Linked DNA regions of Homo sapiens: all the other regions are linked to region 1. The links are contacts of gene promoters, found by promoter capture Hi-C in blood cells and fetal thymus (Javierre and others, 2016). All regions are on one chromosome and are shown on one strand. The core of a region is centred on a gene start or on the middle of the fragment in contact, and the rest is flanking DNA. Distances in the headings are between cores, read along the strand shown.

What was found. Contacts are between HindIII fragments. The CHiCAGO score rates a contact against its expected background, and 5 or more counts as called.
Region 2: a contact is called between a fragment that was not itself captured here and the fragment with the promoter of STARD13 in region 1, in 1 of 17 cell types (endothelial precursors). The highest score is 6.5, in endothelial precursors.
Region 3: a contact is called between a fragment that was not itself captured here and the fragment with the promoter of STARD13 in region 1, in 2 of 17 cell types (endothelial precursors and megakaryocytes). The highest score is 6.6, in endothelial precursors.

The regions. Positions count from the first base shown.
Region 1 is chr13:33,283,671-33,287,669 of GRCh38, forward strand. It overlaps STARD13 (StAR related lipid transfer domain containing 13), which reads right to left and starts at 2,085. Exons shown (of 14, transcript NM_178006.4): 1 at 1,800-2,085. The coding sequence starts at 1,968. RefSeq lists enhancers at 2,188-2,247, 2,258-2,387. The HindIII fragment of the contact is 3,531 bases long and covers 1-2,909 here.
Region 2 is chr13:33,510,068-33,514,066 of GRCh38, forward strand. It overlaps a transcript of STARD13 not described here. Among named protein-coding and RNA genes, the nearest start is that of LINC02344, 180 kb to the left of the region's middle. The HindIII fragment of the contact is 480 bases long and covers 1,835-2,314 here.
Region 3 is chr13:33,487,970-33,491,968 of GRCh38, forward strand. It overlaps a transcript of STARD13 not described here. Among named protein-coding and RNA genes, the nearest start is that of LINC02344, 150 kb to the left of the region's middle. RefSeq lists an enhancer at 1,515-2,091. The HindIII fragment of the contact is 3,241 bases long and covers 705-3,945 here.

The sequences.
Region 1 (3,999 bases), core at 835-3,334:
ATTCATTGACTTCAAACACTCCATTGCCCAGTATAAAAAAGAGGGAATTCTCAAATTACCTAATTAGACAAAAATGAAACATAAACTGAGGGTGCCCATATGTCTGTGTGACAGGGCACGTTCAGTGATAGTGCATGTGTTCACAACTTCAAATCTTGAATGGAAAAATAACCCTCATTCCAAAAAGAACATAAATAATATTTAAATAAAATAAATTATTGTAAATACATCTAAGGAGGTCTGCAAAGCAATTTCAGCTAGTTCTCTGCAATATTTCTCATATGATATGCATGCTGAGGAACATTTATATCTTGTAGATGATAGCGCATCATTAAGCCTCGGTGTTCATAAAGATGATGGCATTTGGAAAGGCACCATTGTCAGAAATTTCTAAAACCAAAGTGGAGCTGGTTTTTATTCTAAGCCTAAAGTATTTTTAAATCTAGCCACAGGGAAATAATTACTTTTGTTTCTATTCAATCAAGACCTGGACACAGAGTTTATGCAATGACATAATATCCTTCCTGAAATCAGACCAGCATGTAGGAAGGACCAGCATCCTTCACACATAACTAGTTCCTGAACCTTTACAAACAAATCCTAATTTCCAAGGAAACAATCTCATCAAATGCTGCCCGCTAGAATACATATTGTTCTTTCTGGAAACATTACAATAAGATTTTCATGATTACAAACCCCAACTTCCTCTTTAATATTCAATATAATCTTAAACTCATTTATTTAAGTGGAAACTGTATTTTTATAATGGCTCTAAAAATTCCTGGTTAACTTATTTAGCACCAATATAATAATTTCTTTTTTTGTTGTGTAGGAGGAGGGTGATCATTAACTGACTGTCAACGTGTGTTAGGGGCTTCTTAGGAACGGCTCTAAAAATTCCTGGTTAACTTATTTAGCACCAATATAATAATTTCTTTTTTGTAGTCTAGGAGGAGGGTGATCATTAACTGACTGTAAACGTGTGTGTTAGGGGCTTCTTAGGAATGTTCGTCTTTCTGCTTTCTACTGATATACCCTATAAGGAGCATGTTTTAAATTTTTTTTTTTTTTGAGACTGGTAAATTTTAGTAATGTCCAGACTTCCAGGCTGGTATTTTGAGGGGCTGGGAATAAAAAGAATATCAAGCAGCTTATAATCAATATTCTCTTCTCTTTGCATTAGGAAGCTGGAGTTTTGTGTGCAGGTTACGGGATTTGTTTTGAGATGAACGAACACCTTAATTCTCTACCAGGAAAACAATATTAACACATCTGTGGCAACTGCTGACATAAACATACAAACAGGAAGAGAATGCGATTCTAGTGCTTAGCCTGGTGGCCTTTAGAACAGAATTCTTGCTTTCCTCCTCTTCACTAAGGATATTCGAAATACTCTGGGCAGGGTGGACATTAGTCCCTCGCCTCCTCCCTAATGAAATAAACAAGTGTCCACATTTTAAATGTGACGGAGTGTGAGGAAACTGCAGAAAAGCTCCTAAGATACACACTGAGTAACAGTTCTCATCTGTTCTGTAGACACACGTCAGTTTGGGAATTTATGATTCACTGTCCCACCGTGAAGTTTTTTGTGCACTTTATGTTGAGCTATGTGGCAGCTAAGGACTGTCCTGTTTGCTGAAAACTGCAGCCTAAAGTTATTTTTCAAAGTTACGGGTAGTGTGGCATAGAAATCCATATGTTATAAAGTGGAAACAAACAAACAAAAAAAACTGGGTTAGCATGAAATAGAGCCAACAGAAATCAGAATGAGCAACAGCCTTCCACTGCCGGCCACTCACCTTGTTGAATTTTAGTCACTAGCTGATGGCGTGCTAGAATCCGGCTCATCCTGTAAGGAGAGCGTCTTGTAGTCTGATCAAATCGCAAGTACATCTCCTGGCCCTCAGGTGTCATGGAATTTAGGTAGTAGCAGCCTGAGGCTGGGGTCCTGGGCACCTGACTGAACATCTCGGCAGATTTCCTATTGCCACCTCAGTCTGCCTGTGGCTGTTGCCGTCTGTCTCCAGTCTCAGTCAAAGAGCAAGGCACCCAGCCCAGGACAGCTCAACAGACCCAGCGATTTTTAAAAAGAAAGAGGAGTGCCAAAGCCACAACTCAGAATTCCAACCCCCGGGGCCCTCACGTGACCTCGGGAACCAATGAGAGGAAGAGAGGAAAATGGGAACGTTTGCAGTCAGCCCTAAGCCCCGACCAGAGGCAGTTCCAGCCGCCAGGGTCCCTCACACAACGCTGAAAGCAAAATACACGTATTTGACGTGCCTCAGAGCTGACGAAGCACCCAAAAGCAGCCCTCACTAAAGGAGTCGAAAGAAAAAGAGAGAGGGAAGGGCAAAACAAGTAGAAGACAAACAAGTCCAGGGCTCAGGAAACTTTTCAGCCTGTCAAAGTTAGAGAAAGCTCCTTCGCTTTCTACAGGGCAGCAGCAGCCAGGTAAAAGATGGACCTGATAAATCTCTTAAATTTAAAAAACACAACACAACAAAAAAAAACTACTTCAAACAAGCATCAACAGCTGAGCGTAAGCCACCACCTTCATTATCAAGAAACAACTCAAATAAAAACTTTTCCAGTGAAAAATAAACTTCAAGGGCTTTAACACCAGGAGTGAATACACCACAGATCCTGACCCTCACGTGATGGGAATTGGAGGGCTCTTACAGATAAGACTCAGAGAGGCAAAGTACACACGCGTTACGTATTAAGCATCCTTTCCTCTTTGATTTCTCTACTTCCCCAATTTTTAATCACCTAGAGGTAAAATACTTAGAAGGTGCCTATCACATTTAAGACACTGAATCATTTAAGACAAGAATCACTGCAGAAGTTGCAAAGGTACTTCAAAGATACTGTCATCAACCTGCTAAGGACCCATTGAGAAGTTATACAAAAGCTTCTAACATGAGGCCATATATATGTCTCAAAAAGGACGCAAACACAATGCTAGGTGAGCAATATTATTTTTGACTGGGGTGATGATTGCAAGCCAGATAGAGAAAGAGACATTTGGATAGGCTTTTTAAAATGGGGGGAATTCTGATAGGCAGAGGCTGGGGAGGGCTTTGCAAGAGACTGTAGGTACCCATGTGTGCAGATCCAGAACCAGAGTATATGGTTTAAGCAAACTGCTAGTAATTCAGTTTGGCCATATCTGAGTGTGTGTGTATATATATACGTGTATATATATATGTGTGTATATATATGTGTATATATGTGTGTATATATATACATACACACACTGAGTGACATATATGTATATGTCATTATAATTTTCCCTGTTTTTCTTCTTTAACATTGTTTGATGTGAAGAGAAAAAGTCCACAGAAAACATGTTATCAAATTCTGAGCCTGGGGCTGAAAGAATAAAGTTCTTTGATACAAAAAGTATATGACCAAGTTGCTTCTACATTTGGCTGACGGAAACATAGCCTGGCTGGGAATTTATAGTCTAATAATGAGAAATTATTTCTACATTATTTCCAAATTAAAAGTTTAACAGGATTTAAATTAGGACTTTGATTCTTCTTACTCTGGCTCTCCGAGGCCCATAAGCCTTAACAACTTTCCCTGAGGGAATTGTTGCTAGCCTGATTCTGAGAAGCAGCTCGTCTTGTATAACTGTCCCGCTATGAGAATAAACAAGTTAAGCACGATCTCTGCAGCCCAGCATGTGACAATTGCCTACTACCTCACGTAGTTGGTAATTGTCAGCCTCTTCGGGTGGTTACACAAGAGTCATCATGTCTTTGTTTTCAGGTTGGCTTCATGGCAGGAAGGGAAAGAAAGATCTATGGGGCCATACTGTGCACTTTCCATTCTTATTTAGGATTTGAGCAGCAGTTTTTCTGTTCCATAGCATCGTCTGTGGAAGGTGAAAGGGATCTGAGACCTAAGGAACTGCTCGGCAGAAGCTCGAATGGAGAAAGGTCGAGCACCATATTGCAAAGTTGGCTGCCTGGAAGGTTCATGAGCCCAGCTCAG
Region 2 (3,999 bases), core at 825-3,324, 230 kb after region 1:
TGCCCTTCTCGCCTTTTCCAAATGGAAGTTTTATTGCAGTGATGGCATTTTCTCTCTACCAATGTGAAGTGGCAGTGCTAAATTTATCTTTTAGCCAGAGGTTGCCAAGCCACGATGAGCTACATTTAGACCCAACCAAAAAAATGTCATAACTTAGAGATTCTGGAATTGAAGTTGAAAGCAGTAACTGGATGAGCCTAAGCATAGTCTCCCTTTAGAGTGAAGGTAGGGAATTTTTTCTGGTAGAGGTATATTTGCAAGGGCCACTTTGAGAATTTTATAAATAGAAAGAAGGCTCATATGGATACTGGGCAGCCAAGGGATGGAAAGATAATGAGAGACATAGTTAACCTGTGCTTTGTTCAGCTCTTTAGGAGCTTTTTCCCATTCTGAGTCCAAGTTCTTTAGGTGGGGCTCTAGAACTCCTGGCTCTAGGGCTGCTATCATGGAAACCTGGCCAATAAAGTACTGGATTTCTTCATTCATGGTGATTACATCCAGGGATGATCACATGACCAAAGCCAGGACAATAAAAGCTCTCCCTGGGTCTTCTGTTGGAGCTATTGAAAAATTGACTTTTTATTTTTATTTTTACTAGAAATTCCAGCTGCCAGTACAACATAAACTAGGAACTGCTGCTGGTCATTTTTGCCACATTGTGGGGAGAGCCTGCCCAATAATGCAGCCAACTTCAAGTTTAGTAAGCAGAGAAAATTATTTTGAACTTCTAAATCTAGTCATATCTAAAGCTGGACTGATAAGCCCTGGTTTTCCAAATTATTTGAGTCAATAAATACATTTTTGTGTACTGAGTTCACAAGCCAAATAATTGAAATTGAGTTCACAAGCCAAATAATCCTAACAGCTAATTAAAATAATTTCTATTTCATTTAAATTCTTTCAAAGAGAAATAATTGAGCTGACACCTAAATTTTTTTTTTCTGTTTAAAAGCTGATGTTGGCCAGATGCAGTGGCTCATGCCTGTAATCCCAGCACTTTGGGAGGCTGAGGTGGGCGGATGACTTGACTAGCCAAGAGTTGGAGGCTAGCCTGGCCAACATGGCAAAACTCCTTCTCTACTCAAAATACAAAAAATTAGCCAGGTATGGTGGAGTGTGCCTGTAATCCCAGCTACTCGGGAGGCTGAGGCAGGAGAATTGCTTGAACCTGGGGGGTGGAGGTTGCAGTGAGCCAAGATCACACCACTGTACTCCAGCCTGGACAACACAGCAAGACTCCATCTCAAAAAAAAAAAAGTTGCTGTATTTCTGCAGTCCAAGATATATTTATTTATTTAACAAATGTAACATTTCAGTACAGGAATTGTTGATTTAAAAATCTGTAGGGAAAACAAAAAAATCACTGTAAACTGAGATGGCATTAAAAGGTAGCTAAGGTCACAAAGATCTGTATTAGAGGGTGATTCCCCTGGACAAAGTGATGATGAGAGCCAACCATTTACTATTTATTATTTGTATCCTACTTACGTTTAAAAATTTTTTGTGTCTCTTTGCAATAAAAGGTACTATGTAATGAAACCACTAAAGCAAATTAAAAACTAAAAGATCCAAATAATAAAATGAAGGAAGAGGAAGTTGTATTGCAAATCCTAGGCGGAGTCTCCCCACTAGAGTCAAGTACAAAACTGGTCGCTGAGCTTCTGAAAAGGCAAAGCAAAATGGATATCAAAAAGTTCCGTACCATGGTTATCTTAATTGAAGGAAATACTTCATTAGGAGAGATTACTTGCTTCTATCACTAAAGTTTAAAAATAACTAATTACCTAGCTCTTTATACACTAGCCCCATGTAATAAAATTGAGTCTTTAACAGAAGCTTCATAAAAGATGCAGAAATGCTCTTTTCACAGCTCTTATAGAAAAAAAATTGGCCATTAATTAAAGCTCAGAGGCACTTGTTTAATTGTAAATCCATGAAGACAATTTGGATGGAGACTTTGAAATAAGGAAGGAGACACAGGCTGTTTTTAGTAATGTGGCTTGGTATTTGAGCAGATTTTGGAGAATGTATTCCAGAAGAAAGTGTGGTGGGTGGCATGTCCCTTAAGACCACTCTTCCCAATTAACAGTTGACTCACAAAATCTTGTAAATAAAGGTTACACAGCAAGCCACTGGAAACTAAAGACTAAGATCAATCTTAGGAGATTAAGTGCCAAAAGAGGACTGCTGATTAAAGTGATATCTACATGCACTAAAAATCCTATTATATGTGAGCAAAATTTTACAATGCAAATCAGTCTTGCTTTTCTTACAAGATGAGGAGTAATAAATACTGTTAAAATGCATAACTAAAAGCTTTCAAGATTAAGAGTCTTAGAGAAGTGTTAGAGTCCTTAGAGCAAAGACAGGTGCTTTTTAAATTTACTATGTTTTTTCACTCTTTTTTTCTTTTTTTTGAGGCGAAGTTTTGCTCTTGTCGCTTAGGCTGGAGTGCAGTGGCGTGATTGCGGCTCACTGCAAACTCCACCTCTAGAGTTCAAGTGATTCTCCTGCCTCAGCCTCCCGAGTAGTTGGGTTTATAGGTGCCCGCCATCACGCCTGGCTAATTTTTTGAATTTTTAGTAGAGATGGGGTTTCGCCATGTTGGGCAGGCTGGTTTTGAACTCCTGACCTCAGGTGATCCACCTGCCTCGGACTCTCAAAGTACTGGGATTACAGGCATGAGCCACTGCGCTCGGCCGTTTTTTCACTCTAACCATAGCTTCATCCCAGGTTCTTGAAAGCTCAGATTGCCAGCAAACCACTAGAAGATACCAGAGAGTCCTGGAACAGATTCTCCCTCCCAGTCCTCAGAAGAAACCAACCCTGTGCATATCTTGATCTCAGGCTTCTAGTTCCAGAACTGTAAGACAGTAAATTTCTACTGGTTAAGCCACCCAATGTGTGGTACTTTGTTATGGCAACCCTAGTAAAATAATAACAACAGCCACATTCACTTGTTTATATATTGTCTACAGCTGCTCTCATGCAACAACAGCAGAGTTGAGTGGTTGGAACCAAAACCACATGGCCTCAAAGCCTAAAATATTTACTATCTGGCCCTTTACAGAAAATGTGCTGACTGTTGACTTATCTGATGAGTGAGATAGGGTAAAGGGTCACCAGGCATATGAGGTTTATTCTCCTTGTCTTTCTCCTTTGAGAACTGTTTGATGATCCTTGCTCAGCCCCTCTCTCTTTCACACAGGCTGACTCACCTGGGATCACTGAGTTCTATTTGGGATAAGAGTAGAAGAAAATAAGAAGACACTTGGGGTCTGAGGCGTGGTCTCCAATTTAGCTTTATCAGCAATAAAGTGTTTATTTTCTCTCTTCCTGATAGCTATACATATTTCTCAATTGATTTCAAATCTGGGAGGAGAGACATACGTGATTCACTGACTTCCATGAACCTCAACTTCTTCCTCCTCATAGTATGAAGGTGTTGGAAATCTTATTTCCCTCTTGAAGTTTTCCCAAAAAGGAAGTGAGTGCTGACTTGTTTTTAACCTGGCCATATCCTCTCTGAAGATGCAATTCTCATGACTAATTTTTAAATTCCATAGCACATAAAACTATTATACTTGCACTCATGCTCACAAAGTTTAGATTTTTTTTCATGCTATGCCATTATGTATTTATGAGTCTCTGTGTATGCTTTTATAGATCTAAATTACTATAACCTTTCTTAGATTATGAGCTTCTGAGCAGATTTTTGTTCAACTTGCATTCTGGTTTGTTTAATAGCAACACAGTGCTATGCTGTTAATATGTTTCCCCCATTAATGAAGTCCCCACTAATCCACCAACAACTTTATTCACGTAACGTAACAAGGAAGATAATTTTCAAGATGAAAAAGACACTGATAATAAATAACAGCTTTGTAGATTGAGAGAAAAATATTTTAACCTCTAATAAAATATATCTAGAAATGTGCCTGAGAAAGTCAGCCTCTAATCTGTCACCTGTAGCTTGTAATTAACTAAGTTAACCCATTG
Region 3 (3,999 bases), core at 1,075-3,574, 200 kb after region 1:
CCAGGGCAGCTTCAAAGCATCTAATCCTCTCCTTCCCTTGGTGATACCATTCTTCCTTGGCTTCTATGATACTGCCCTCTCCTGGTTCTTGTTTGTGTGTCTCTGGTCACTGAGCCTTCCCCTCTAGTTCCTCTTCCTCTGCCTCTCCCTTAAGTGTACATATTCCCTAAGGTTCTGTCCTTAATCTTCCTTTTTCTCATTACTCCTTCCTCTAACTACAGTTATCTTGATTTTGAAGACCCAGGCTGCCAAATCTCCATCTCCGCTAGCACGATTCCGGAGCTGCATCCAGAGGGCCACCTTAGAGGTCTACCATGCCTCAGCTCAAGAGTCCCCTCATCCAGGTGTGCTTCTCCTCGGTGCTTTATTTCTTAATTAATTGCACCTTCATCAACTCTACCCTTCCGATTTAGAAGCCTCAGTATTATCTTTGATTTGTATTTCTGTGTCAATCACAAATAAAATCAACAATCAAACCCAATTACTTCTGTCTACAACATCTTATTTCCAATATCTGGCTCTTTCCTCCTCAAAAATCTTCAATGGATCCCAATTGCCCCTCGAGAATAGAATGAAGATTTTTAAGAATGAGATCAAAATATTACTAGGCAATGATCTTCCTTTTGGGCATGAATACTCATTATCTTCATGAATTCTATGCTTTTTCTTCTACCAGACATTTCCTGATCATACAAACACTTTCAAGCTTTTGAATCTTGGCACATGAAATTGCCCTAAGCTGGAATATCCTTTCTTCTCTCCAACTACTGGAATCCTATCTATCTTTCAAGTTCAAATACCAACTTCTCTCTGTAGCCTTCTTTGATATTCACAGAATTCATCCCTCTTTATGCTGTGATCATATATGATTTTGTGTTAACACATTTAAAGCATTTAAGTCATGCTTATTAACACATTTTCTTTACCTGAATTTCAGACTCATATTTAATTCCCCAACAATCATCTCCACTGGGTTAACCCTCAAGTCCCTCAGATTCATTACACTCAAGTTGAACACACCCTGCTGACTGGACTTGGTCTTCCTGCAGTGTGCTTTCTGCTGGGAGTCACCCTTCATTCTTCCATCTCTTTCTAATTTCACACCCTGCCTAAATGATTCTAGCTTCTAAATATCTTTCTAAGGTATTCACATCTCTTCCCCCACTATTAATAAACTAGTTCATACCAGCATATTTTATTATTAGTTTTCTTCCTCTGGTCAATGATTAATCAATTGATTAGAATTGCTAATAAAAAAAGATCAACTCTCAGTTCAGGAAAATAAATATCAAGTTATATAATCTATATGTAGTCATATAGCCTTTATAGTTTTCTGCCTTCTCTTTTAACTTCCATAGGGCAACTCACTATAGTAAAGCCTTTTGTGTTATTAAGTTATCTCTTGGTAAACCAAGTTAAAAATTAATTTAGTGGTCCAGTATTCAGATATTTTTCTATTTAGTTATAATAAAAGCTAAGAAGCCATCATATTATTCTTCATTTTCTTTCTCTGACCAATGTCTAATACATGACTTAGAGAAATTAAATGTTACTTTTATGTGGGTCAAGTCCAATCAACTAATAAAAAACAGGATATAGACATCTGAAAACAATGTACCTATTAAAATTTCCTTTTATACTTTCTTTTCAAAGTGTTTAAATTAGAGTTTAATGGAAAGTATGAAGTAATTTACTTATCCAGCTTCTACGGCCAAAATGGAATGTGCTAATTTTATTAATCTGAACAATGGTGGCTTGCATTTGAAAAGCTCAAGAAACAGCGACGCACCATGGGGCTAATCACTTCAAGTTTTCTTTTCTTTATCTCTGCCCATTTTGCAAGTTCTCATTATTTGCATGAAGACTCTCAGAGAATTACCAGACCAGAAATGTAACCCATTGTATTCTTTCTTCTAAAAGGGGTAGAAATCATTTTTGAGATCATTTTCAAAATTGGAACATTGCTGAAAGGAAAAAAATCAAATGGATCGATAACCTTGAGCTTAAGGAAAAACTGTATGTTAAGCAAGCAATGGTTGTGACATAAAGTAATAATATTACTCATTAAGTAAATTTTTTTTAAACTTTCACATAAGTTTAAATAACCACTAACAGAATTTTATCTGATACAATTATAAATGGAATTAATGACAATAGTTTACAACCTGATTTCAAAAATTTGTTTTTTTATGTGTTTTAAGGAATTCCACATGCTTATTTTGCGCTGGGGAATTAATTTGAAATAGCAAATTGAAGGATGCTAGTAGGTATGTACTATACTGATATGGACAGGAGACAGGGAAATACTGGGTAGAAGAAGGCAGTTCCCCGGCAAAGGCCCCACCCTCAAGCCTGGATACTCATGGCCCTAAATGAGAACAAATATTCCTGTTTTCGCGCTCCTCTTTGGTCCGCCACATCCCCTATCCTGCACCCACATAAACCCCAAATCCCAAGCTCCAGAGCAGACCAGCAGGTGAGGACACAGGAGGCAAGCAGACCGACAGTGGAACAACGCGGCAGAGAGAAAGAAGAGTAGGGGCATCTGGATGCTGAGAGGAGTTTGGCTGGGGGTGGTGCAAGAGGAGTTTTGCCTCCGGCCGCTGGGTGGCCCAACTCCAGGGGAAGATACCTTCCCACTCCATCCCCCAGCCCCCGCCCTTCCAGCTTCCCATCCACCACACTGAAAGCCACCTCTACCACTCAATAAAACCTCACATTCATCCTTCCAGTCCGTGTGTGACCCAATTTTTCCGGGACACTGGACAAGAGCTCGGGATACAGGAAGCTGTCACACTGGCCCTCTGCCCTTGCGAAAAGGCAGAAGGTCCACTGAGCTGATTAACACTCAAGCCGTCTGCGGGTGGCCAAGCTGAAAGAGCTTTGTAACACTGAGGTTGCAGGCACCCACCATTAGACATTACCATGGGGCCAGAGCCCAAAGTGCTCGCCCTGGCCTCTGCACCTGCCCATCTGCATGCTCCTCCTCTCACAAGGGGTCTGAGCAGTGGGCAACCGAACAAGGGAGCCATACCCCTGTCTCATATCCTGTAAAGGGAGTCAGGGAAGTCTCCCGTTTCAATACTATGTGGCCATGTGACTTGCTTATGACATGCTAGAGAATGTGCCAGTGGTAGATGGGCAGGCTGTTTGTAATGAAAATTAAAATGCAAGTTCTGTGCTGAACTGAACTGTTGAAAGGATAACAGACCTTGGAAAAATGCCAGGTAGAAAACGGAAAACATTTCTCCATGGTATTTCTGGTACGTGGCACCACAGTAGACACTCAACAAATATTTTTGAATAAATGAATGTGAGGGCTGAGTTAGCTTAGGAGACATTAATATAAAATTGAAAACATTGATGATTTGATTGTCTAAGATCAGAGCAGTCCCTTAAGAAAAGAAATCCCAAATCATGTATTAGGAGAGAACGTGTTCTAATCTGGAAAATTTCAAGATTATTGTTTTGTTCATTTCTTTGTTTTTTTCTTTTTAAAATCCAATGAAAGGATTTAGCAAAAATTCCTAAGAGTCTATATGGTACATTTCATCAGTGATCTGTGAGACCTTGGGGGTTGAAAAGAAAGTACAAGAACTTAGCCTCACTCTGTTGTAGACTTTATAAAATACAATCAAGGATCTCTGTCTAAAACCACTTCTCATAAAAAAATGGTTTATAAACTTTATTTGCACATTACAACCTTAGAGATAAATAATAAAATGGAAATCTAGAGTCCAGCCTAATCTGTTTCTCCATTAAACCTCACACAATGTGATGAGGAGCTGTAGAGTTCTGAGGAATAAGGTTTGAAACCTGTTGTCCCAGAGGATTCTTCTGAGGAACCTAAATGCAAGAACCTCTGGTAGTGAAATGATGACAATTGAATGTTTTCACTCGCGTCCATGTGAAGAGACCACCAAACAGGCTTTATGTGAGCAATAAAGCTTTTTAATCACCTGGGTGCAGGCGGGCTGAGTCCGAAAAGAGAGTCAGGAA